Regions from separate parts of the Homo sapiens genome. Here regions 1, 2 and 4 are each linked to region 3. The links are contacts of gene promoters, found by promoter capture Hi-C in human tissues and cell types (Jung and others, 2019). All regions are on one chromosome and are shown on one strand. Each heading gives the region's core, a stretch centred on a gene start or on the middle of the fragment in contact. The rest is flanking DNA. Distances are from core to core; before and after follow the strand shown.

Region 1 (7,198 bases), core at 835-3,334, 350 kb after region 3:
CTCTGTCGCCCAGGCCGGACTGCGGACTGCAGTGGCGCAATCTCGGCTCACTGCAAGCTCTGCTTCCCGGGTTCACGCCATTCTCCTGCCTCAGCCTCCCGAGTAGCTGGGACTACAGGCGCCCGCCACCGCGCCCGGCTAATTTTTTTTTGTATTTTTAGTAGAGACGGGGTTTCACCTTGTTAGCCAGGATGGTCTCAATCTCCTGACCTCATGATCCACCCGCCTCGGCCTCCCAAAGTGCTGGGATTACAGGCGTGAGCCACCGCGCCCGGCCTGGAAGAACAGTATTAAGATGAAGTCAAGAGTGCAGCTGTAAGACTTTTTAAGACTTTAGAAAGTTTTAAGTTTTAAGCATCTGTTAGATGTTCTCAAGTAAATGAGGGGCTACTAAGAATGTTAGAATGCTTCATAGACTCTTTTTCTACTCTTTTAAGAATCTTGGTCAGGTGTGGTGGCTCACGCCTGTAATCCCAGCACTTTGAGAGGCCGAGACAGGCGGATCACCTGAGGTCAGGAGTTCAGGACCAGCCTGGCCAATATAATGAAACCCTATCTCTACTAAAAATACAAAAATTAGCTGGGCATGGTGGCAGGAGCTAACTACATGGGGGTGCCTGTGATCCCAGCTACTTGGGAGGCTGAGGCAGAAGAATCACTTGAACCCGGGAGGAAGAGGTTGCAGTGAGCTGAGGTCGCGCTATTGCACTCCAGCCTAGGAGACAAGAGTAAGACTCCATCTCAAAAAAAAAAAAAAAGAATATTAAGGATGTTTCCTATAGCACACTGAATCTCAGACTATGGCAGAGAAGGACCTATCTTGAAAACATTTGTGACTTTGGCTTTCAAGAACTCAAATAAGATTCATAGGAAACTCATAATAATTTAAGAGAATTGCATATGTAGAAGCACCATCAGCTTCAACTAAAAAGAATAGTTTAAAATGAAAAAAAACCCTTGGAACTCAGAACTTCCTATGGGCAAGAAGCAGGCTTCAAAAGCTACACAGCAGCAAATATAAGACTTTTTTTCTGGAAACGGAATGATGATTCAAAGTGAAGAGCCAAGAGTCCAGAAGGCAGAACTCAGAACCACAGAGAATCACTCCCAAGGAGCAGGATTGGGTCCCAGTTAAGGACATGGAAATGTGCATTCTGAAATCTGGGATTTCAGAATTACTATGGAACACTGACTGTTATGTGCCTCCTGTTCATCCCTTTTGAATGGGAGCATTTATTGCAGTTTTCCTATCCTCATATGACTATTGGATGTTGTGTTTGTGTTACAGATGACTTGACTGTATTTCACAGGTCTTCATATCAAGAGGAACCCACACTCAAGGAAGTACGCCTGAAGAGCTTCATCTGCAGCTAGACCTCATTTAGGTAATGAGACTGTGAACTTCAAGCTGATACCATGTGGGATGAGACTTTGGGGGTCCTGGGAGGAGAGTGAGTATATTTTGCACATGGAATGGACGTGAATGGTGTTGGCCAGAGGGCAGGCTGCGGTAGACAGTCTTTAAATATGTATATCATCAGTGTCTGCTGTACTTGTAGTATGTCCTCTTTTTTACTTCTTTTTTTTTTGTACTTTTCTTCATCATTTCACCAGCGGTTTGTCTATTTTATTACTTTTCTCAAAGAACCAACATTTGGTTATGTCAATCTCTTTTATCACATATATTTGTTTTCTGCTTAGTTTCTCCTGTTGTTTTTTCTCCTCTCATTTTTATTATCTCATTACTTCTACTTTCTTTCCTTTTTTTTTTTTTTTGTTTTATTTATTTATTTAGAGATGGGGTCTTGCTCTGTTGCCAGGCTAGAGTGCAGTGACGTGATGACGGCTCGCTTCAGACTTGATCTCCTGGGCTCAAGTGATCCTCTTGCTTCAGTCTCCTAAGTAGCAAAGACTGAGACACCATGCCTGGCTAATTTTTAAATTTTTTTCTAGAGATTGGGGGTCTCGCTATGCTGCCCAGGCTGGTCTCGAACTCCTGGCCTCAAGCAGTTCTCCTGCCTTGGCCTCCAAAGTGGTGAGATTACAGGTGTGAGCCACTATGCCTGGCCACTTCTGCTTTCTTTGTTGATTTTTGTCTAACATCTTGACTTTAAAGCTTAGCTCTTTAAATTCCAGCCTATCTTTTTTTCTAATATAAGCACTTAAGGCTATGCATTTCTCCTTAAGTACATCCTATAAATTTCAATATAGCACTCTTAAAATCATTCAGTTCTAAGTATTTTCTGATACTTTCTTGTATGGTGTCTTCTTTGATCAGTTTAGCAGTAACTATATTTAAAGTTTTTCCAACATACAGGGTATTTTAAGGTGTTGCTGTTACTGTTCTTACTGTCCTCCAGTTATAATGAGACACCCAATGCGGTAAGTATACTGATTCTTTGGTGTTTGAGACTCGTTTTGTAACCTGGAGCATGGTCAATATTTATAAAAGCTCCATGGAAATTCTTGACAAAAATATATGTACTCTAATATTGGCTAACATTTTCTAAGTATAACCTATTAAGTCAAACCTGTTTTGTTTGTTTGTTTTGTTTTGTTTTAAACTGCTTCCCTGTCTTGGACCTGTCTGTCAGAATTCTATACTATCTGTGACATCTTTGGCAACAGTAACCCAATTTTTCCTTTCTTTATTAATGTGACATGAGATATTTGAAAATTCTATGATACATGTAGTATGTTTCATATTAAACTGAATTTGGGGGAGTTTTACACTTAATAGTTTGTCAATATTTTAGGATATTGGTACTTGATATCCTCTTTATATGAACAAATTGACTCTAAATTTTAAGCTGGAAAGCCATTGCAAAATCATGTAGAAAATAGGCTGGGTGCAGTGGCTCATGCCTGTAATCCCAGCACTTTGGGAGGCCAAGGCAGGTGGAACGCCTGAGGTGAGGAGTTCAAGACCAGCCTGGCTAGCATGGTGAAACCCCCATCGCTACTAAAAATACAAAAATTAGCTGGGTGTGGTGGTGCATGCCTATAATCCCAGCTCAGTCACTGTAGTTAAACTCCATTGGTTTGGTCTGTTAGGCTGAGTGCAGGAGCCTAGTCCAAATCAATGGCCTCCTGTAAATTTTAATTAATTAATTTATTTATTGAGATGGAGTCTCACTCTGTTGCCCAGGCTGGAGTGCAGTGGTGCAGTCTCAGCTCACTGCAACCTCTGTCCCCCAGGTTCAAGCAATTCTCGTGTCTCAGCCTCCTGAGTAGCTGGGATTACAGGTGCCTGCCACCACGCCCGGCTAATTTTTTTATTTTCAGTAGAGACAGGGTTTCATCATATTGGCCAGGGTGGTCTTGAACTCCTGACCTCAGGTGATCCACCTGTCTCAGCCTCCCAAAGTGCTGGGATTACAGGCGTGAGCCACCATGCCACACCTCAATGTCCTTCCAGCCTCAGTCAGCCAGGTGGTTTCAAAGCCAATTCCACATTTTAGGCTTTCATTATGGTAGCACCCATACCAAACTTTTTCTTAGAAACAGCTAAAAGCTGCATAAATTTGAGTCCTCTCACAAGTTCAAGGCAGATAGTTACTCAAGAGATTGAGGCTGAGGACGGGAGGCGGCTTGAGCCCAGGAGTTCGAGGTTACAATGAGATATAATTGAGCCACTGCACTCCAGCCTGGGTGACAGAGTAAGGCTCTGCCTCTAAAAAAAGAAAAGAAAAAAGTTCAAGTGGAAAATGGCAGTGAAAAGATAAGAAGCAGCAGGAGTAGACAGGGAGAATCTTCAGGCCATGGTGCAGGACTGACACCCGTGAGAGGAGAGAAGGAAAGAAGGAGGATTGGGTAGGAAGAGGCTCCGAGTGTTAGTGCAGCTCTGAAAAAACTCTTGGCCAGGCTGATTGCCCAGTGAAGGAGTCCCACATAAGGCAGAAATGGCCCAGCTGTAGTATGCCCTGGAGCTCGGTCATTGGCTGGGATGAATCCAGGGAAAGCGTGCCTTGGCAAGAATGCTGTGGCAAATCCCAGAGGTACGGCAGTTACCTCTACACCTCACAGCAGATTCTCTTTGTGAAGGTGGATGTAAGACATTGTGCACACAGTCCACCCCTTGGTCACATAGCCCATCCCTTGCACTGCCAAGATCCACCTGCCCCACATCATTGGAGAGAAGTTCCTCTACAGCTCTCACAGGCCTCTCTTCCTGAGGAGAAACCTGAATGAGTGAGGTTAGGGGGATGAACCATAGCCCCTATTGTTGCAGATGGTTGAGTTGTCTTTTTTTAAAAAAAAAAAAAATCAATTTATAAGACTGGGTGCAGTGGCTCACACCTGTAATCCTACCACTTTGAGAGGCTGAGGAGGGAGGATTGCTTGAGCCCAAGACCACCCGGGGCAACATAGTAAGACCTCATCTCTACAGATAATTTAAAAAATTAGCTGGGTAGGTGAGCCACTGTGCCTGACCATACATTTTATTTAACATATGAAATGCCCAGAATAGGCAAATCTATAGAGACAAGTAGATTAGTGATTGCCTATGGTTGGGCAGGGAGAGTTGTGGGGTGCTGTGTTCTGAATGTGTCCCCAAGATTCATATGTTGATACTGAATCACCAATGTAATAGTATTAAGAGGTGGGGCCTTTAGGAGATGACTAATAAGGGCCGAGCCCTCATGGATGGCATTAAGGCCCTTATAAAAGGGCTTGAGTTGGTGGGTTCCATCTCTTCTGCCATGTGAGAAGGTCCTCACCTGATGCCAAACACCAGTGCTTTGATCTTGGACTTCCAAGCCTCTAGAACTGTGAGAAATGTCTACTATTTATAAATTATTCAGTCTCATGTATTTTGTTGTAGCAGCACAAACAGACTAAGACAGAGGTGGCAGGGGTGAGGGGGGACAGAGTATGACCATTAATGGGTACCAGGTCCCTTTTTGGGGTGATAAAAATGTTCTAAGATTGATCATGGTAAAAGTTGTACAACTCTGTGAATATACTAAAAACATCGAATTGTATGTTTTAAATGGGAGACTTGTATGGTATGTGGATTATATCTCAATAAAGCTGATATATATGTGTGTGTATATATATATGTGTATATATATGTGTATATATATGTGTGTATATATATGTGTGTGTATATATATATATATATATACACACACACACACACACACATATCTATATCTAGGACCAGGACTTACTTGGCTTGGCTTGAAAATAAAACTGTTTTCACTGTCAGCCTCTCCAGATGGTAAATGATTCTAAAGTTAAGAAATGGCTCTGGGCAGAAGTAAAATCCAAGACACTGTCAGGAAAATATTATCTAAAAAAGAAGTTAAAGGTTAAGACCTTTATAGAATGCTTTATAGGATGCTTTATAGAATCCATCTGATAGAAAAAAAAGTCTCTCCAAAGATCTTAAGGACATTTTGGAGCAGTCTCTCAAGGGAAGGAAGTGCTTATCTCAAAGAGATTTATGAGAGTAGCTTTTGTTGGAGTGGATAATAAATTCATGCATAAGGAACCCACAAAGCTTCTAAGAGAATTGCTCTGGCAGAAGCATCTATCAGCTAGGACTAATGGGGACATAGACAGTACAAAATGGAAAGATGCCTTTTATAGGGAGGAATCAGGCTGAGAAGGCTACTCAGATACAAACTCAATTTTCTTATAGAAAAGGAAGGATGATTCAGAGTGTAACCAAGAGCCCAGATATTGGAGCTGAAACCACAATGAACAACTCTCCGGCAATTGGACTAAGCTCTAATCAACCTACATCAGTTGGATTTCAGAGTTGTCTCTGCTGTATGCCTCCCATTTTCCCTTGTTTTGAAGGGGAGCAACTCTAGAGCAACTCTAGCCATGGGAGCAACTGTAGAGCAACTCTAGCCTTTCCCACCATTGTATGTAGGATGTGTATAGGAGGCAAATAAGTTGCCTCGTTAATTCATATATTTGATATGTAGGAAACAAATGGCAGAGATAGATCAATTAGATAAATTGAGAGGCTCTTAAGATAGTCCAGGCAAGAGATGATGGTAGCTTGGAGTAGGTAGCAGTGAAGAAAATGAGTAAGTAGAGAGATTCAGAATATATTTTGAAGTTAGAGCCAATGGTCTTTGCTCATATATTGGAAACGGGACATAAGAGGAATAGAAGAGTCGAATCAAATTCAACTCTTCAATATTTAGCTTGAAGAGCTGGGTTAATAAGTTTCCCTTCAACTGCTTTTGTTTGTCCACTCTCAGAGGAAAATTTTTAAGCGTAACCTACACTGCTCTCCCCCTTTTCTCACCTCCCACTTCCCATTACACTTTATCTAGTCTCTGCCTACTACCAGTCTGCAAAAAATGCTTCTGAAAATATCGCCAAAGGCCACCATGTCTTAAAATCCAATGGATACTTTTTAATCCTTTTTATGTGATCACTCTATTTTATTTAGTACAGGTATCCACTGCCTTTTTGAAATGTTTCTTCCCTTGGCTTTTTTGGACCATGTAGTTTTCTGACTTTCTGCTAACTCTCTAATTGCTCCTTTTCAATCTTCTTTTCTGGCTTCTAACTCTTTGTATAGCTCTGTGCAGAGCTCTGGCTGACCCTTTTCTTGCCTCACTCTGTACTCTTTCAATCTTAGAACTCCACGGCCAAGTGCAGTGCCTCATGCCTGTAATCCCAGCACTTTGGGAGGCCAAGGTGGGCAGATCACTTGAGACCAGAAGTTCAAGACCAGCCTGGCCAACATGGTGAAACCCTGTCTCTACTAAAAATACAAAAATTAGGGCTAGGTGCGGTGGCTCATGCCTATAACCCCAGCACTTTGGGAGGCCGAGGTGGGCGGATCACCTGAGGTCAGGAGTTTGAGACCAGCCTGGCCAACATGGTGAAACCCCATCTTACTAAAAATACAAAAATTAGCTGGGCATGGTGGGCACCTGTAATCCTAGCTACTCAGGAGGCTGAGGCAGGAGAATCGCTTGAACCTGGGAGGTGGAGGTTGCAGTGAGCTGAGATCGCACCATTGCACTCCAGCCTGAACAACAGTGCAAGACTACATCACACACACACAAAAAAAAAGCTGGGCGTGGTGGCATGCACCTGTAATCCCAGCTACTGGGGGTGAGAGTGGGGCAGCTAAGGCATGAGAATTGCTTGAACCCTGGAAGCAGAGGTTGCAGTGATCCAAGATTGTGCCACTGAACTCCAGTCTGGGTGACAGAGCAAGCCT
Region 2 (7,191 bases), core at 552-3,051, 490 kb before region 3:
GCTGATTTGTAGGTATGAATAGTATTTGTCTGTTTGTATTGGGCCCCTTATTGCTGCCACTGAGAATCTTGAAGTTGTCTTGAATATTTTGCTTCAGAACTGTCACTGTCTTGAGCAGGCAAGTTACTGTTGCCCCAAATCTTCAAGGTGAGAAACAGGTTTGCAATCATTTTTTTGCAGGAGAATACATGATGGCACTTTATATCAGGAAGCGAACTTTTAAGGTGAGCACTCTGAAGTTGAAGCATTTCCAAGTTTTAAGTGGGACTGTGCCCTACCTTAGTTCTTACTTCATCCTTTAAACTGTGTGTCACACTGGAGTAGGCAGTTTCCCAGCCCCATACCCAGCTCCACCAAGATCCTCACTTCTTTCATCATTTGCCCATTTTTCCCCAGGCTATGTTTGATCTTGCTCTGAGGCCTTCTTTCTTGGGAGGTATAGCGAGAGTAGCTGCAGAAACCTCTGGGTGGCACCCTGCCCCCACAGGATTACCAAAGAATGACATGTGTGGAAGAGGCTCAGGCCTGTGTTGGCAGGAAGAAGTGACTCATTTTTCATCAAAGGAATTTCAAAGAACATATAATGACAGGATGATGTCACAGGAGCAGGTGGAGACAGGAACCTTGATTGAGCTGCTGGAAGATATTAAATGGTGTGGCTGCCTGGGCAGTCAGAATGATTGACCAGCATAAATCACAGGAAACATCACCTGTTTTTTAGTTCCTATTTCATGAGCCCTGGTGTGGGCAGTGCTGTTCATGTGCCCTCAGAGCATATGGTTGAGTCTATGCATGTCTTGGGTATACTGTGTTTGTATCTGGGTGAGATGGCTCACAACATCCTGTGCTAGTCATGGACTTCTTTTTCATGCAGGGCGGCGTGTGTGGGTTCCTGCACTGTGTGCCTCAGTTCTATAGCTAGCAGGGTCTGTGTCTTGGAAATGAGCCTCACATGGTCATACTGGCTGGTTTGAAGGCATGACATTTCCTCTGACATATTTAGAGAGGGGAACTTGCCTTGACATCAGAAGGTCAGATCTCAGAATTTTTTACCTTATTGCCAAAAGTACCCTAGTTCCATCTAGTATTTTGGCAAGAGCTAGATCTTTGCTCAAAGCCCAGTTAAGTCTTGTGGTGGTGGTGTTTTTCTTCTTTGAGTAGAGGGCCCTCCAATGGTGTTGTATGGTTGAAGCTGATAAGGTGAGGCGGAGTGTGGTGGCGGGATGGAGAGTTTCAGTCAGGATAAGTCTTAGTATCTTTTCATATCGCAAAGCAGTAAAGTTGGTTAGGTTATTCAGGCTGTTATTTATATTAAGATTGTGAAAGAGTGCTCCTGGTCATCATCATGCACCTACCAGAGTCTGTGTGATTATGAGGTTGGAGGCTAAATTAGCCATTTACACAAAGATAAAAGAGAGGCTAGCATTGATAATATTCTGCCTCAGGTTTCAGGCCTCTCAAGGAAGGTCTTAGGAGAGATGGCTTAGCAATATCAATTGCTGCCTTTGTGCTTATAACTCGTTCATCTGAAGATGGCCTGGAAAAAGGGACTTTTAGGCTGCATAGGACACCACCAAAAAAGTAGAAGATACTACCTCTCTTTAAGATGTATCAGGGCTGGTGCTGGGCGTGGTGGCACACGCCTGTAATCCCAGCACTTTGGGAGGCCGAGGCAGGTGGATCACGAGGTCAGGAGATCGAGACCATCCTGGCTAACACGGTGAAACCCCATCTCTACTAAAAATACAAAAAAATTAGCTGGGCGTGGTGGCGGGTGCCTGTAGTCCCAGCTACACGGGAGGCTGAGGCAGGAGAATGGCATGTACCTGGGAGGTGGAGCTTGCAGTGAGCCGACATGGCACCACTGCACTCCAGCCTGGGCGACAGAGCGAGACTCCGTCTCAAAAAAAAAAAAAACAAAAAAGGAAAAAGAAAAGAAAAAGATATATCAGAAGAGCTGGGCATGGTAGCTCACACCTGTAGTTCTAGCTACTCGGGAGGCTAAGGCAGGAGGATTGCTTGAGCCCAGGAGTTCAAGGCTATAGAATAGTGCCATGATTGTGCCTGTGTAGTCACTGTACTCCAGCCTGGACAGCATAGAGGCCCAGTTTCTTTAAAAAAAAAAATTTTTTTTTTAAATAAACCCAAGATATATCAGAAGCAAGAAGGAAAAGTTAAAAAACAACAACTATAATTTGAAAGGGAGGAAGGAAAGCTTTATTTATTTCTTGACACAGTCTTTAATTGTTACGTTCTTCTGGCTGATCATGAGTTTTGTTTTTAGACAATATTACTAGGTACACTGTAGGATGTAAACAGATCTTTGGAGTAGGATAAGAAGGAAATGAGTCAGATAACTTACTTCTTAGAGAAGGGTGCTGGACTTTCCGGGGGCTTAGTTAGCAATATTCCTCCTCCCTGCTAGCAGCCATCTCCCTGTATCTCTTCATGAAATAACAAATCATTAGAAGAGATTTTTAACCTGAAGTGCTGAAGGACCCAGGGAAGAAAGTTCCCTAGGGTGTATTTGATTTGGGAGCCCCCTGAGGGTAATCTGTGGTGATGCTGTTTCAGAAGTCACCACCTGACTCGTTGTCAGATGAGTCTGAGCCCAAGACTCGTACCTGCCACATAATATATACAGGTCCTCTCTCCCTTTGGTTATGAGCTAAAGGCCTTTAATCATGAGGTAGAGGAGTGGATAAGGGAGAAATATCTGAAACCCAATTAACCAGATTCCAGAATGTTAAGGGAATCCATGTGGGGGCTGGGATTCTGAACATCTCTCTCTCTCTCTCTCTCTCTCTCTCTCTCTCTCTCTCTCTCTGTGTGTGTGTGTGTGTGTGTGTGTGTGTGTGTTTTGGTGGGGGGTGAAATGACTTTTTTTTTTTTTTAATTTGAGACAGAGTCTCACTCTGTCACCAGGCTGGAGTGCCGTGGCATGCTCGGCTCACTGCAACCACCAACTCCCTGGTTCAAATGATTCTCCTGCCTCAGCCTCCCGAGTAGCTGGGATTACAGGCACGCGCCACCACGCCCGGCCTAGAAATGACTTTTTTAGGGGCTCACCTATAGGATAAAATCCAAACTCATCTTGTCATTTAAGATCTTTCATAATCCAGTCCAACTTTCTATAACATTAAATCAAAATTATACATGTTCTTACTTTAAAAGGTTAAAATATTACTATAAGGCATATGACAAAAATAATCTGTATTTTCCACTATTTTTTTTTAAGAGACAGGGTCTCACTCTTCCACCCAGGCTGGAGTGCAGTGGTGTGATCATGGCTCACTGCACCCTTGAACTCCTGGGCTCAAGGGATCTTCCCACCTCAGCTTCCTGAGTAGCTTAGACTATAGGTGTGTACCACTGCGCCTGGCTAATTTTTTTTTCTTTTTGTAGAGTTGGGGGTCTTGTTTTGTTCTCCAGGCTAGTCTCAAACTCCTGGCCTCAAATGATGCTCCTACCTTGGCCTCCCAGAGTGCTGGGATTGCAGGTGTGGGCCCCCACACCTGGGCCACATTTCTGTTTCTTTTTTTTCTGCACACACAAACAGCCAGAATATATTTCTTTCTCTTTTACTAGTGATTCTTGATTTTTTTTTTTTTTTGGTTTTGAACATTATCTGTTGATATTCTACTACAGAAAATTAGGGTTTAGTTTTTTTATTCTTACCCCCTTAACGTACACACTTTCTCTTCCCCCTTCTTCCCAAAGTCACACGTTATTGCCGTTATATTCAGTGTTCAGATTATTGTGATTATATAAATATTGCTTAAAGGTGAGCTATGTAATATACTATGATTACATTTCCTTTTTGGACCAACTTTTAATTTTTCCTGGAATTAATAATTGCCATATTTTGTCACTTGTTTACTGATCTATGTACATACCTTCAGACTCTCTCATGGGACTCTAAGACTTCTCTCTCAGTATGTTGAAACATATCAAATAATCTTTTAGTTCAATAGTCTATTTGGAGACATCCCCCAGGAGCTTTCTCTTATTCACTCTGGATGGGTTGCTCTTAAAGCCTTTAGTAAAGCTGTCATCCTGGCACTTCCCTTCACTATCATACGGGGAAATTCCCTCACCTGTCTTCCCTGTTGGATTTCATGTTTCCCAGAGCTGATGTCGTATTTCATGATGTACTCCATTTTTTCATTGTGGTATATCCTAGCTTCCTGAGAAAGGATACAAGGGAGGTAAATGTTTTTGAGACTTTGCTTATCTGAAAATGTCTTATTCTACTTTTCATTTGATTAAGAGTTTGAGTATAGAGTTCTAGGTTGCAAATCACTTTCTAGCAGATTTTTTAAAAAATTATTTAAAATTTTTTTGTAGAAATGAGATCTCGCTATGTTGCCCAAGCTGGCCTCAAACTCCTGGCTTCAAGCAATTGTCTGGCTAATACTGCCTTTTAAGTCTCTCTAAGGATATTAATTAGAGGCTGTCTTTCTCTCTCTCTCTCTCTGTCTCTCTCTCTCTCTGTCTCTCTCTCTCTCTCTCTCCTCTCTCCTTCCTTCCTTCCTTCTTTCCCCTTTCCCTTCCCTTCCCTTCCCTTCCCTCCCCTCCTCTCCCCTCCTCTCCCCTCCCCTCCCCTCCCCTTCCCTTCCCTTTCTTTTCTTTTTTCCTCTGCATCCAGCATTGTCTCTGTTTCTTCTGAGCTCCTTCTATTTATTTTGGTCTCTGTCTTTCATGTTAGAAGTTCTCTTAAAATGTCTGATGTTTCTTGGTGATCTTCACATTTAAGACTTGGGCCCTGGCCAGGCACAGTGGCTCACACCTATAATCCCAGCACTTTGGGAGGCCGAGGCAGGTGGATTGCTTGAGCCCAGGAGTTCAAGACTAGCCTGGGCAACCCCATCTGTACAAAAAATTACAAAAATGAGCTGGATGTGGTGGCGCATGGAGGCTGAGGTGGGCAGATTGCTTGAGCCCCGGAGGTTGAAGCTGTAGTAAGCTGAGACTGCGCCACTACACTCCAGCTTGGGCAACAGAGTGAGACCCTGTCTCCAAAAATAAAAAAAGAAAGAGCTGGGCCCTAAAATGCTGATTGGTGGGACTCGTTAACTGGTATACTCCTAATGAATAACCAGGTAGAGGAGGTTGGTTTCCCCAGGAAAGACTGGCCAGTCTCCCATCTGGGGGCCAATTCTGGTAGCTAGAGCTCTGGGCCAAGTGGAGCAATTGGCCAGTCTGGAAGGGCCTCATCGTTCATTGTCAAAGTTTATTGATTGATTGATTGATTGATTGAGACGGAGTCTCACCCTGTCACTCAGGCTGGAGTGCAACCTCTGCCTCCCAGGTTCAAGCAATTCTCCTGCCACAGCCTCCCAAGTAGCTGGGATTACAGGTGTTTGCCACCATGCCTGGCTAATTTTGTATTTTTAGTAGAGGCGGGGTTTCACCATGTTGGCCAGGCTGGTCTCGAACTCCTGAGCTCAGGTGATCCACCTGTTTCTGCCTCCCAAAGTACTAGGATTACAGGTGCGTGCCACCACACCCAGCTAATTTTGTATTTTTAGTAGAGGCGGGGTTTCACCATGTTGGCCAGGCTGGTCTCGAACTCTTGAGCTCAGGTGATCCACCTGCTTCGGCCTCCCAAAGTGTTAGGATTATAGGCGTGAGCCATCATGCCCGGCCCATTGTCAGATTTCATTTAATATCCCTGTTTTCACTGAGACACCTGGCTCCTGACCTCACACGGGCCTGAAGACTTCCAACCAATCTTGTTTTCAGCCTTACTCTGCAGCATGCCTTCTCCTACCAAGTCTTCAGAGGTTCCTGGTGCTTCCAATTTCTGAGCCTTTCTGGGATTCTGCAGTACAATTTACCTTGTTTCTTATTGTTGCCCATTTCCTGCAGGCACTTAGCAGAGAGAAAGAAAGCTGACATTTAAGTTTTCGACCATTTGTTTATCCACACTCCAGTGTATCAAACTTTTGTTGCTATTTCTTATTCTTATTTTCTGTGGGTTTGTGCCATTTTAATTCTCTTACTGTCACTTTTCTGAGGTTTCTGAAAGGGAGCTAAATGTGCTTATTAAATTTGTGATGGATACCCCAAAGTTGGCAGAAGTTAATCTTCCCAATTTACTTACCTCTCTCTGAGCCTCCTCAACCCCAACCCAAATACACAAACCCTGTGGTTCATTCTAGTGTCACTTGTACTTTCTGTTTTTCATTCTCTTCCTCATGCTATCTCTCCTCCTGGAGTGTTTACTCTTCTTATTTCAGACTGTTGAAATCCTATACATTCTTCTAGTCCCAGGTTATATTTCTTATCTATGGAAGCCTTTTTTTTGACTTCCCCAACAGGAAATGACCATTTCATTGACTGAATTTCTGAAGTTCCATTCACTGAGTTCTTATAGTCTTGCCCTCCTGACACAGCCTGTACTGCTTTATGTTAAGACTATCTGTATACATATTTCTCCAGTTAGATTGTAAGCTCTTAAAGGATAGTAGCATAAGACTGGCTTTGTAATTTTTTTTGTTATTGATAACAATCAACATAGTACCTAGGCAACTAAATATTTCACAGAACCACAGAATTTTAGAGCTGGAAAAGAATTTAGAGATCTAGAATGTGAACTCATTTTATGAATGAGTAAACAGATCCAGTGTAGTTAAACGATCCTGAAGTCATTTAATAAGCCAAGAACAGAACTGGACCTATAATCGTCTCTAGTTCTGTAATGTCTAAATGCATTGATAAAATCTGATATGTGCTTATTTAGATATTCTGGTTTATCAAAGGTTAACCAGAGAGTGCTTTTTGTTTCATTCTTGTTGAAAATTTTTGTCAATATCTTTTTGGTTTTAGTAATTAGGTATGCCATAGGTAATTTCTTTTCTTTTCTCCCTCCTTCGCTGCCTCTCTCTCTTCTTTCTTTCTTTTTTCCTCCCCTCCCCGCCCCTCTCCTCTCTCTTCCTTTCTCTTTTCTTGTCTTTTCTTTCTTTCTTTCTCTTCTTTTGTGTGTGTGTGTGTGTGTGTGTTTGTTTTTGTTTTTTTTTTTTTTTTTTGATGGAATCTTGCTTTGTCACCCAGGTTGAAGTGTAGTGGCGTGAGTAGCTGGGACTACAGATGTGCATCCCCACACCCAGCTAACTTATTGTATTTTTTCATAACAACAGGGTTTTGCCATGTTGCCCAGGGTGGTCTCGAACTCCTGGGCTCAAGAAA
Region 3 (6,453 bases), core at 2,888-5,387:
CCCAAGGTCATGTGGTAGACCTCAGTTTGCATTTGACTTTTAACCCCAACCAAGATGGTGTATGTGGCCAGCAAGGTCTGCATAAGGCAGTGGCAGGACAGGTGCTTCTTCTTGGAGGTTCAACCCAAATACCTTTCTCAGTTGCTGACTACCACCATGTGTGTGTCCTAAGGGTGGGGTTGGTGGTGGAGTGGGGAGACCCACTCTCATAAACCCTGGAAGCCTGGAGGCCTTTGGAACAGGAGCTGAGCTTGCTCCACCCACTGGGCTTACTGCCCCAGGGACAGGGCCATCACCCCTCTAAGGACAGAGAGTCAGCTGCCCTCCCAGCCCCATTAGGCAGGTTCCCAAGCCTGCCACTCCAACCCTGGCAGCCAGCTAAGGTCTCGCTCCTCACTTTCTGTCCCACAGTCCCTGCCAGACTGCCAAGTCCTGGGCTCCCTCTGGCTGAGCTACCCAGACAGACCCCAATCCATCCCGCCCCTGGTTGTTGCAAGAAAAACGTCCTGGTTGCATTGGCCCCAAGAGTCCTCTGCTTCTCTCTTTTCCAGATGGGGAAACAGGCCCAGAAAGGGGCCTGTTACTCTAGGTCAAGGCAGAGCAAGATGACATCTCAAGTCTCCGGCCTCTAGCCTGGCCTCTATCCACACTGCAGTCCCCTTGCTATTCCTCTCCTCAACAGTTCCCAGAAGATTCTATCCCTTGCTACTTCCGCCTTCCCTGGAAACATCTCCCCCAGCCTTCACTTTCCAGATTTGGGAGAAATGATCAGGGCGTGCCCACAAACTGAGGTTTCTAACGGCAGGTCTCTGTTTCCCAGCAGAATGGGGGTCCCAAGGGCAGGACTGTGCATCCCCACTTAGACTGCTGTGACACAGTATGAGTGAGGTGGAGTCTAAGATCCCAGAGGCCATGGCTGTGTAAGAAATATGGATCCCAGCTGGGACTGATGAATGACCTGTCCAGGCTCCAGGTGGAGCTGAAGGAGCAGGTGAAATGGGCTGGCCAGAGATAGGGACAAGTTGTGGACATAGAGACCCTCCTGGGCCTGGCCGCAGAGGTGGCCATGTGTTGGCAGGGGCATCTAGGAACAGTTCCTCCAGAGAGCAGAAAGAAGCCCTGATCTCAGACTGGGAATTGGGTCAGAGTGACTCAAGGGCTCACTCTGGGAGCTCTGAGCTCCAGGAAACCAGGGTGCTGGCAGCTCTCTCTGCCTTTCAGGGTCAGGCTGATGGCTCCGGCTAGGGGATGGGAATGGAAGAATAACAGAGTGCAGCCCACCCCCACCTGGACTTCCTGAGGAGCTCCCATTTAGGCTAACGTAATTCTGCCTATTGGGTCCAAGATAGAAACATAGGCAAAAAGCTGTTATTCCCAGTAGGACTTAGAGAGGGAAGGGCTGCTGAAAGAGAGAGGGACAGGAGAGTTTTGGATTGAAGAAGTGTTCTGACCCCATGAGGTGAGGGCCTCCAACAGGCCTTCAGGCGTTAAATATTTTACTCAGGCCCCTGGGAATGAGAATTAGCCCAGGCCAGGCCATGATGGGGCCCATGAGGCCTAGAGCCCCCAAAATAGCCTGTGGGAAGAGGGGCTTCTGCAGGAAGGAATAGGAGCTGGGAAGCCTCCAGGCTTCTTGCCTCCCAGAGAACCATGAGAGTCAGGGGCTGATCCAGGGGTCATGACTGACAACTGGGCCTGAGCTCTCCGGTTCCTTGGTGCCTGGGGAGGAAATGGATTTTGAGCACTGATGCTTTCACTGCCCCAGTCCCCAGTCTCCATCCCTTCTTCTGCATCACTCAGGCCACAGCATTGACATTCATCCAGCTTCCTCTTCAGAGAGGCACCAGCCTTCTCACTGGTGGGTTTGCTGCCGGACTCACCCTTTCCAATCCATCCCAGAGTGATCTTTCTAAAATAAAAATGGGACCCAGTTAATCCCCTGATGAAAAATCCTGTAATAGCTCCATAATGGTATTCATATGTTTGTTTAAATGTAGGTTGACCTTTTATTTAAATGAATTCAAATAAACTTTGAATTCAATATGTAAGCCAGATATTACCATATATCTCATACCATATGGTACCAGATATAACATATATAATTGGTGTTTATTTATTTTACAGATTCAAATGCATTACATTTATTTATTTATTTATTATAAAGTCAACCAATGAAAACAACACAGTTGTTTGCATGACAACAAATTTGAAACTAGCGGCTAGAATGCCAGTGCAGACTTAAGCTTCAGCATCCGGCCAAGTTGTTGCTGTGTTTGTATTTGTACAGTATTGAGAAAGTCCTGATTCAGACCAATAAGTGGTTGGAAATGCTAAAAGGTTTTTTGTTTTGGTTTGTTTTAAACTAAAGGCCTTACAATCTCAAGACGCTCTTTGATGGAACAGATCACAGGGGAAGCCTTATTCTGAGCTTTGCTTTAAAAAAATCTGCAGCACAAGCTAGTGGCCTTCAAGCTGCTAAAATGTCCACCTAATACATTAGAGTGAGTTGGGTTTTATTACACATTTTTAATTGTTTAAAACATAGTCCGAAGAAGAAAGAAAATAAATTGGATTCACATGTGTGCAGACTCCCTGAAACATGGGGCTTGGGGAAGCTAGTTTGGAAATCCCTGACCCCCTTGAGTAAGGTCCAGACTCCTTAACATGATCCCCAAGGCCCTCTGTGGGCTCTTCCACATCCCTCCAGCTCTTCTTCCAACAATCCTGCATTCTTCATTCAGTACTTATTCAGGAACACAGTCCTGAGCTTCAGAGACATCTGCATGACTTTTGCCTGTCCTGTTTCCCTCTCCCTGGGAAACTCCACCTACTCAGGCTTTAAGATCAGGATACGTGCCACTTCTACAAAGCTTTCCCCAGTGTGATGTCACTACTCTACTCCCCCCCCAACTCCCCTAGGCTCTCATCTCTGGAGCCTCCATCATTGTGCAGTGAGCTCCTGAGGCAGGGACTCAGGTTATTTAATTCTTCAATCCCCACTCTTGAGCAGAGCTTGGAGGTGCTAATTGAATGATTGCTGATAGGGTGGACCTGTTGGGGAAGGGTTCTTGGAGGGAAGCAGCAAATTGCTTTAAGATCAAGCTGGAGCTCTTTGGAGGACCGCTGTGGGCCAACCTCTATTCTCGGTTTTCTCCTCAAGCTCTGAGATCTGGGAAGTTGGAGACAGCAAGGTCCAGGGGCAGACCAGGGCATCATCAACTTGTTTGATGGCAGAGAGGAGAGAGCTCCTCTGTGAGGTCCCAGACGGTTGACACCACCACAGGGTCGTGGGGATGTTAATGCCCACTGCAAGGGGAGCAGAACCCGAGCTGGGGGGCAGAGTCCAGCGCTGGGAGCCTGCGGCCAGGGGCGCCGATCGCCCCCCAGCGCAGAGTGTGGATCCCAGTGCCTGGAGAGAGCAGCTCCCTTTCCTTAGGACGCGGGGAGCGCACTGCCCCCAGCCCAGGGCCCAGGACCCAGAGCCAGACCCCAAACGCAGAGTCTCAGGTCCGGAGCCCGATGCCCAGATGGCGGAGACCGGAGCGCACAGCCAGGAACCGGGTTCCCAAAGTCTGGTTACCCGCGCCTGGGGCGCTTCTGGAAGCGCTGCGGACCAGCTTCGCCAACAAGTGCAATCCGCGCTCCCCGGCGGCCCGAGTGGGGAGGGGCTGGGGCTGCGGGCCTCTAGCTGGGCCCTGATGACAGCATGGGGGAGGGGGAGCCTGGCGTGGAACCCGAGTCCCGGTAAAAAAATACACCAGAGCAGAGCTCCCAAAATAAACCCGAGCCCGCGCCAGCTGCAGGGCGCATTCTGGGGCTGAGGAGCTGCGTCCCCTCCCAGAGGGGCGCCACGGGTCCCTTCCCAAGAGACTTATGACCCCTCCTCCGGGGTAACCCTTCCCCCGTCCCCCGCATACCCGTGCATTGCTTTTACCGATTTGGGTTTCTTCTTGGGCGCGAGGTTGTCGTAGAAAATCTTGGCTTCCTCCCAGACCGGGGCCGCAGCGGTCTCCGCTCCTGGCCCGGGCTCGCGGGGCTCCTGGGGCTCCCGGGGCTGCCCAGGTTCCATGCTCCGGCTCTGACCCGGCCCGGCCAGAGCAGGCGGCGGCGTAGACGCGGAGGTGGCTGGGGCTGGGCTGCAGGAGGGAGGCGAGTCCCGGCGAGGGAAGGGGGCGGGCAGCGGCGAGGAGGCTGTGCGTGTGAGCTGGGCTCCCCGCCCGCCGGGCGGGGGGAGGTCACACTGGCCCTCTCGGTCGCCCGTGTGTCGCTGCCGCTGCTGCTGCTACTGCTGTACGGTATGAGGGATAGCTGGGCTCTCCTTCCCCGACCGACCCACGCCAGCAGCCGGTTGGGTGGTGAGGGGGGCTCTCTGGCTCTCTGGGTTTGTGGGCTGCAGCGGATTGGGGATTGCGAAAATGATGTTCTTCGCAGGCGCTGCAGGGCGCGGAGACAGGAGAGGCCTGACAACTTTTTTTTTCCCCCAGGATAGTGATCCCCAAAGGACAAAATGAAAAGCTAGCCGCTCCCCTCCCAAAAGCTAGCTGCCCATCTTTCCTTTAGGAGCTAGGACCCTGGGATCCTGACGATGTCCCCTTCCCTCCGAGGCCAGTCCATCCGGCAGACGGGCAGGAGGTGATGCATGGATGGCTCCTCTCACTAGCAGAAGCCTGCTCCCAGCGGGAGCTCAGTGAAGGGCCCAACCCGGCAGCTCCTCCACACCACCTAGGAGGGGCCCTTGAAGTCCATGTTGAGACCAGGCTCGGGTGGTCTCAGGTCGAGACCTTGGCCTGGGGTGGGGACCCAGGCCAGAGAGACTCCCAGGGACTCTGAACCCGAATTCTTGCTGGCCCTTTGGTGGTCAGCAGAGGGCGCGCATTCCTAGGCCCCCACCTGCCCAGCTTGGGGTGATTTGTTATAGGCCATGAAGGGGCTGGATAGAGGGAGGGCAGAAGAGGGGCCTCGGAACTACCATCCTGGAATTCCAGGGTGTTGTCCCTCTTGATGCAGAGCTCTGTACTAGTCTCAGGGTGCAGACACAAATGTCACCCATCCCAAGGTACAGGCCAGGAAGCAGACAGCCTCTCTCAGAGGTGTGCATGGGTGGGTGGGAGAAGCAGGAGAAAACACTGGCTTAGCTAGGAGGGCCTCTGACTGGGGAGGTGAGGGGGCTACAGAATGGAGTGATCCCCTCAGCCTCCACCAGGTCCTGGGAGGAATAAACCAACCCTTGTGTGGGAGGAAGGGAAAAATCATAATAAAATGTTAGGATTGGGGGAAGTGTGTTTAGACTTACTTCTAGAAGATTGTTTCCAGAGATGGCCCAAAAACCTCTTCCATCCTGCCTGTCCTTTGGAAATGTGACTTTGACATTCCTCCCATTCAGAGGTGGAGTCCAGTCTGAGCTGGCCCTGTGACTTGCTTTGACCAATTGAATGGAGTAGAAGTGGTGCTCTGTGGTTTCCAAGCTTACGTCTTAAGAGGCCTTGCAGATTCCATTTTTGCCCTCTTGGGAGCCAGCTACTATGTAAATAAGTCTGGACTATCCTGCTGGAAAGGCCACGTAGTGAGACAGATAGGACCTGGAGGATAAGAAGCTAGCGACAGCCCAGGTGACTATAGGCACAATTGACAGACATGTGAATGAGGCCATCCTGGCTGTCCCAGCCCCAGCTCAGCTCCCAGTGGAGTGCAGCTATGTGGGTGACGCCAGCCAACACAACCTGAAGCAGTAAAACCTTCCAGCTGAGCCCAGCCAACTCACAGAATCATCAAAAATAATAAATTGTTGTTTCAGGCACCAAGTTTTGGGGTAGCTTGTTACACTGCAATAAATAATTGAAACTCTAGGAATGAGGTCAATTATTCTCAGGTGCCTCATGGAGAAGAATGATGAAGTAACTCAGGAAGAATACATAGAGTGGTTACTTGGATGGAGGTGGGCACTTCACACAAAAGTGAGCCACCCCCATGCTGTCCAGCGGCCTTTAATCTGTGTGATTGGCTTGAAAAGATGACCTGGGCCAAGCAGATTTGTCTTTCTCAGGAATTTGGAATTGGGAAATGGGCTGGGCAGTCAACCATTGGAATAGAAGCTGAGGATGCTGTGAAATACAGTTGGCTCCGAAGAGACCTGGGTGAGCCTCAGCAGACTGCAGTTATATGCAAAGTAAAGCTCGGCGCAGGTGGAGACTCTCTGAGCAGAATGAGATGAGCAGCAGATCAAGATGGGAAAGGATGTGCAGAGAGCAGCACATGAGAGAAACCATGCTGCCCTGAGATGGAGCCGCCTCTGCTCCTGACAGTTTCCCAAGTTCTAGCTAAGGCCTGGCTCTGGTGCCCATCTCTACACTTTCATGAGATTCTCCACATTGTTTCAACAAATGCCCCCAAAAGGAAATTTGGTGGATTGTGGTTTTGCTTGAGTGGCCACTTTTCCCGGCCTCTCTTTCTAAT
Region 4 (6,263 bases), core at 3,177-5,676, 390 kb before region 3:
TTGTATAAAAATAAAATGAAATTAAAAAATAAAATTGTATAAAAATAAAATGGAAAGTTAGGCAAAATAAGTTGTATAAAAATAAAAATGTAATAATACTGGTAAAATTATGATATAATACATATACAGTTGGCTCTCTGCATTGTGGGTTCTGCGTCTGGGGATTCAACCCATAACGGATGGAAAATATTCTGAAGAAAAACATTGCATCTGTAATGAACATGTACAGACTTCATTATTCCCTAAACAAGATAACAACTATTTACTAACATTTACATTGTATTAGGAATTATAAGTAATCTAGAGATTATTTAAAGTAGCTGGGAGGATGTACACAGGTTGTATGTGAATACTACCTCATTTTGTATCTGGGACTTGAGCATTTGTGGATTTCAGTATCTGCGGATTTTGGTATCTGAGGGAGGTCCTAGAACCAATTCTCCATGGATGACTACTGAAAAGGGGTTACTATCCTATAGATAAAGTGATTAAGAGCATGGAGCCAGATTGGCTAGGTTTGAATCCCAATTCTGCAACTTACTAGCAGTATAACTTGGAACAGGTTACTAAACTTCTCTGTGCTACAATTTCCTTATTTGTAAATGGAAGATAAGAATAGCATATGCTTGGTAGGGTTGTTGTGAGAATAATATGAATTAATACAAGTAATCACAATAAATGCTAGTTAATATTATTACTTAAAAGAACAAGAAAATGAATAAGAAAAAGACAAACACCCTTGTAGAAAAATAGGGGAAAGCCCAGGAATAAGCAATTCACAAAAAAAGGAAATCCAAATGCCTCATATACATAAGAAGACTCCTTTTTACTAATAAGGATATACAGATCAAACAACAATAAGATACTTTTTTTTTTTTTTTTTGAGACAGAGTCTCGCTCTGTCGCCCAGGCTGGAGTGCAGTGGCGCGATCTCGGCTCGCTGCAAGTTCCATCTCCCAGGTTCACGCCATTCTCCCGCCTCAGCCTCCCGAGTAGCTGGGACTACAGGCGCCCGCCGCCATGCCCGGTTAATTTTGTTTTTGTATTTTTAGTAGAGACGGGGTTTCACTGTGTTAGCCAGGATGGTCTTGATCTCTTGACTTCGTGACCCGCCCGCCTCTGCCTCCCAAAGTGCTGGAATTACGGTGTGAGCCACTGCGCCTGTAATTTTTTTTAAAGAGATGAGGTCTCAGCTATGTTGCCCAGGCTAGAGAGCAGTGGCGATTCACAGGTACCATCATAGCGCACAGTAGCCATAAACTCCTGGACTCAAGCTTGTAGCTGGGACTGCAAGCACACCACCATGCCTAGCTAAGATACCATTTTATACCCATCAGATTGGCAGAAGGTAAAAATTCTGAAAATACCAAGTGTAGGCGAGGATGAAGAGTGATGGGAAAACCTCTTCATAGCACTTAAGTGGAAGTATAATTTGCTACTGTTCTTTAGAAAGTAGTTTGACAATATTTTGTAGAGTTGAAAAATGCCCATGTTCTATTACCTAGGGTTTCCATTCTAATTATATTCCCTAGTGAGACCTCCAGGACTCTGAATGTGAATACTGAAAGGAGCACTCCCTTTTACCTAACTCTAATATTGGTAATAAACACCTTCTTTATCTCTGTTCCTCACCAACATAGCTGCCATTAGATCCCTCTAGCTGGGCATTTGTAGAACCACTGCATTGTGCCTTCATCTGCTTCTTCTTCTTCTTTTTTTTTTTTTGAGAAAGAATCTTGCTCTGACACCTGGCTGGAGAGCAGTGGTGCAATCATAGCTCACTGCAACCTTGACATCTTGGGCTTAAACGATCCTCGTGCCTCAACTTGCCAAGTAGCTGGCACTACAGGGGAGTACCACCACACCCAGCTAATTTTTAAATTTTTTGTAGAGACAATTTCTCACAGTGTTTCCCAGGCTCGTCTTGAACTCCTGGGCTCAAGTGATCCTCTTGCCTATGCCTCCCAAAGTGGTGGGATTACAGGAGTGAGCCACTGCACCCAGCCCTCATTTGCTTCTTGAAAGTTTTCAAGGTCTGATGCTTTATCTTTAGTGGGTGATGAGGTCAGCTAGAAACTTGAGGACATAATAATCAAGTACTTACTTGCTCAGAACAACTCGTCTCATCCACTGAGAGACTTACCAAGTCCAAACTCCTCAGCTGGGATAAGATAAGATACCAAGTCGAAACTCCTCAGCTGGGATAAAGATAAGATAGATTACCAGTTCCTTTGTAATCTATCTTATCTTTTCTATCGGTTCCCAATTTAAACCTTCTCATTTTAACAGATCAGTCCCTTAACTACTATTTCTGTTTCACCTTATCTCAGTTTGTTTACATCCACTTTCTACGTGGAATTCCTTTCTTCCTTGGCTTTCACCTGTTCTGTAACACCCTTCAAGGATGAGTTTATATGGTACTTCTAGAAATCCTCCAGCCCACAGTAATTTTCCATTCTGCTGAGATTCTGTATTGGATATTACTATAATTATTGGTCGTTTTTGGCTATAAATTTGTTTAACTATTTCATGTGACCTACCATAGATATGAGATTTTTTTCGTCCAGAAATTAACCTTCAGAAAAGAGATATTCTCTTTATATTTTACTTCTTATAAAGCATTTCTTGTTATTAGGCTTCCAGGGAGCTTATAGTCAGTTCATGAAAAAGGGTGAATAAATCTATGTCACCATCTGCTAGTTCAATCACTATCATTTTTTTGTAGAGATCAACTGACATAATTGATTAAACAAAAAAGAGGAATGAAAAATCTAAGAAAGTTTTAGTTATTGTTCCTGGGAATATAATCTCCTAATTTGAAGTGTTGAAAGTAATTGTATACAAGCCTTAACATTAAAATTTTTTTTTGAATCACTCACATTGCATATGAAACATACACATACATTATGGGGATCACAAATAAACACAGCAGAATGAATGAAAAAAAAAAAAAACCCTAATCCAGTGTTATGTAACTGGACTCTTGTGGTTTGAAATGAAATACCCAGAGACAATGTAGATTCAGAAAAGTGCTGTTATTAACTTTAAAATCTTAGAAAAGTAGACAGTATTTTCTAGAAAATTCACTAAAAAGATAGCTTTATTGAAGGAAAAAACATTGATGTTAAAGATGCATGTGAAGTTTGAATAATACAGTTTTTTGAAATTACAAAGGCAGAAAATACATTAATACTAAATGCTTAAATATACTGCTTAATTTTAAATATGTGTATATGTGTAAATAAATTTCTAAAAGTTTGGGTATTCAGGAGGACTACAGAGCTTCCCTTCCTGTATTCCTGTTTTACCTTCATACATCTGTTGTTATCTGGGAAAATATTTGGGATAATCATATGTTAGTTATGGCATGTCTCAACTAAGTTCTTGCAGGCCAAGCATGTCTTCTTTTTTTGTTTTCCACCTTTTTACCTGGCCAACTTCTACTTATTAAAACTCAGCACAGATGTTGTTGTTGCTGAGCAATCCTCTGGCATTGCTAGTTTGGATTACTTGCTTACCTCTGTCACAACATTGATCTCTTTGTATAGTAAATTGTCTCCCTGATTAAATTGCTTGAACTTGAGGCCTGAGGCTGTGTTTTTTTATTTTGAGATATCAAGAATTTAAGCACAGCTCCTAGAATATAATGGTTGCTCAAAAAATATTAACAGTATAAGTAAGTGGTGTGTCTTTTCTTGTTCTTCTCCATGGTGCCAGTCATAGTGCTAAGATGTTGTTCAGTCAATACTTATTGAATTATTAGGAAAACATTCAGCTTCTGGGAATACTTCAGAGAAGCAATTAACCAAGCTTTGGGAAGTGTGAGATGAAAGGAAATTCAAGTGGAATTTGCATATTCTCAGGCATACTGTTGAGGCTGTTCTCCCTCTCCAAATGGCTTCCTCCTTAAAAAGCCCAGATGAGGGAGAAAGATCTCTGAAACTAAAGCTGGATTTCTGCATTTGGGAGATTAAGGTAAAAGCTTCTGCATAGCCCAGAGCACAGTACTGTGCACACATATCATGTGTGAGTATACAGAAAGAGATTGATGAAAGCCAAATTTAATTACTGAGATGGTTGTGATGATAATCCCATTTTTCTCATCCAGTTTCCAGTCTAGGTAATGGCCCTAATCCAAACAGGTATTTTATTTTTCTTTCCCTTAGGGATCCAAACATCTATCTCATTACAACTATGTTTAAAATCTGAAGTAAAGCTGTTCATTGAAGTAGTTTTAGTGCAATATACAGAAATACTAAGAAATGAGAGATGTTATTAGAAAGATTATGGCTGTAATGAACATACAATATCAATTAACTAACTGGAATTTCATTTTTGGGTGAAGAACCCAAATACTCAGATTTTGTTTTGCTTATTCAAGTTCTGTCTTGTTTTACATCAACAAATCTATTTCCTGTTCCCAATAATGTTTTACTTTAATATGTACGTGAAGCAGCTACAGTGAAGGCAGTGGGATATATCAATGTTGCATTTAGCCAGTGAAATAGGTAGCTAGAAATGTTAAGGGGAACTGAAATAGAATTGGTACTAGGAAGAAGCTGTTTATAGGAAGAGCCGTGATCCATTATTGTGTCCTTGGCTCTGCAGCTCCATAGCTTCTCTCCCCACTACCGCCCCTCCCCCAGCCCCAGGTAGATCTGGAGTTGATTAATAGTTTTAGTAAACTGACTCACACTGATCACATTTGCTTGAGATTGGTCTATGTGAATTTATTAATTTACAAAATAAATTTTAACTGCCAAGTGATTCAAGAATTTGAATTGGCCACTTACTGCTTTTGTTGCTTTAGAATATCTATATGGGAAGCAAATAATAATCTGAAGGTTGTCAGGTGAACATGCAGTCAGAGCAGAGAGGTGGTGAGTAGAGGAATGATTTGTAGGATGGGCTTATTAGCTGGCATCATCAAAGTAGAATAGTCTGATTTCTTCTGTAGAAATGTACCTGTCAAGGGCATAAGATCCTATGTCCCTTGAATCTGCTGGGTAGGGTACAGTTTCACCTTCACAGGCATGGAGGCAGTACTTCCTGGCTTCCCTTTTCTGTACTCAATGCAAGCTTCCCATACTCTTCTATTCTCACGGTCTTTCTTCAGACATCTTAGTAATATTTAGTAGCCTGCAGCTTTCTTTTATTCTAAATATAGTGTTAAAGTTCCTGGCCCTTTTTTTTTTCCAATTTTAAAATATCATCTGATATTTAATCTCATCTATTATGAGTTTGTAAATTCAGACACTTGGAGATGACTTATTATTGACTTCTCCCTTGTATTGATCACAAGGGAAGCTACTACTTTCATGGTACTGCACCTGATAGAGACGACTAAGAGACAGGATGTTCTATTGACATGCCGGTGTTTTCTCTGCCCCAACACCCAGACCAAAAATTGTGTTGGGTATGCTGTCTTATTATTATGGGAAGGGAATACATGTACCCTCGGCACTATCTACATCATCTTATTTAATCCTTATAATGATCCTTTGAGAAAGTTATTATCCTATTTTAAATATGGGGAAAATTGGGCCAGGAGGCTTACATGGTTTGCCTGAGGTCACATTTCTAGTAAATGCCTTCTTTCAAACACATATCTGTCTGAATGAAAGGCTTAACATTTTTCCTTGTTAACAAGGATTGTTTTTATACTTTTTATTATAAAAATAAAGTGTGGTCATTACTCGAAGTCTGAAAAAAAGAAGAGTAGGAAGAAAAACTAAAGTCATTCATAGTCCCACTCCAGAGGAGACAAATATAAACTTGTTTACTTTACACAGTGCTTTGAATTAGCTAAGTAACCTGTCTACAGATTCTAGGTGGGCTTTATGCCAGAATACTTTTTTTTTTTGAGACAGAGTCCCGCTCTGTCACCTAGGCGGGAGTGGTCTCGAACTCCTGACCTCAGGTGATCCACCTGCCTCGGCCTCCCAAAATGTTGGGATTATAGGTGTGAGCCACTGTGCCCAGCCCCCAAAATACTTTTATTTGCTTATTTTTATTATTTCATTTTATTTTTATTATTTCATTCATAAACCAAGTTATTATTAATTAAAACATGTTAAGGTCCCACCATACAACCAGCACAACACTAAGTGCAATGGGCAATGCACCAAAGGACTGTGATCAATGATTCTCAGATTTGGAAGTTATTTCGTTCACAGCATCTTAGTTTCTGCTTGACACGTCCAGTGGCGAGGAGCTCTCCCACATAGGGTTTGCTGTTCAGTTTTATATTGCTCTGGTTGTTA

Evidence for each region. The method cuts DNA at HindIII sites, captures the fragments that hold promoters and counts their contacts. A contact is called where the count stands out against the background at its distance.
Region 1: a contact is called between a fragment that was not itself captured here and the fragment with the promoter of NT5C1A in region 3, in 1 of the 25 tissues and cell types used here (lymphoblastoid cells).
Region 2: a contact is called between a fragment that was not itself captured here and the fragment with the promoter of NT5C1A in region 3, in 1 of the 25 tissues and cell types used here (lymphoblastoid cells).
Region 4: a contact is called between a fragment that was not itself captured here and the fragment with the promoter of NT5C1A in region 3, in 2 of the 25 tissues and cell types used here (dorsolateral prefrontal cortex and lymphoblastoid cells).

What each region holds. Positions count from the first base shown.
Region 1 is chr1:40,022,392-40,029,589 of GRCh38, forward strand. The region is part of intron 2 of LOC105378669 (a long non-coding RNA gene); the gene reads right to left. Among named protein-coding and RNA genes, the nearest start is that of CAP1, 15 kb to the right of the region's middle. The HindIII fragment of the contact is 3,453 bases long and covers 359-3,811 here.
Region 2 is chr1:39,183,389-39,190,579 of GRCh38, forward strand. It overlaps a transcript of MACF1 not described here. Among named protein-coding and RNA genes, the nearest start is that of MACF1, 18 kb to the right of the region's middle. RefSeq lists enhancers at 1-952, 193-707, 462-731, 708-1,221. The HindIII fragment of the contact is 7,790 bases long and covers 1-5,696 here.
Region 3 is chr1:39,667,970-39,674,422 of GRCh38, forward strand. It overlaps NT5C1A (5'-nucleotidase, cytosolic IA), which reads right to left and starts at 4,138. Exons shown (of 6, transcript NM_032526.3): 1 at 3,935-4,138. The coding sequence starts at 4,069. RefSeq lists a silencer at 3,921-4,330. The HindIII fragment of the contact is 3,595 bases long and covers 2,557-6,151 here.
Region 4 is chr1:39,274,214-39,280,476 of GRCh38, forward strand. The region is part of intron 6 of MACF1 (microtubule actin crosslinking factor 1); the gene reads left to right. Among named protein-coding and RNA genes, the nearest start is that of MACF1, 73 kb to the left of the region's middle. The HindIII fragment of the contact is 3,769 bases long and covers 2,543-6,263 here.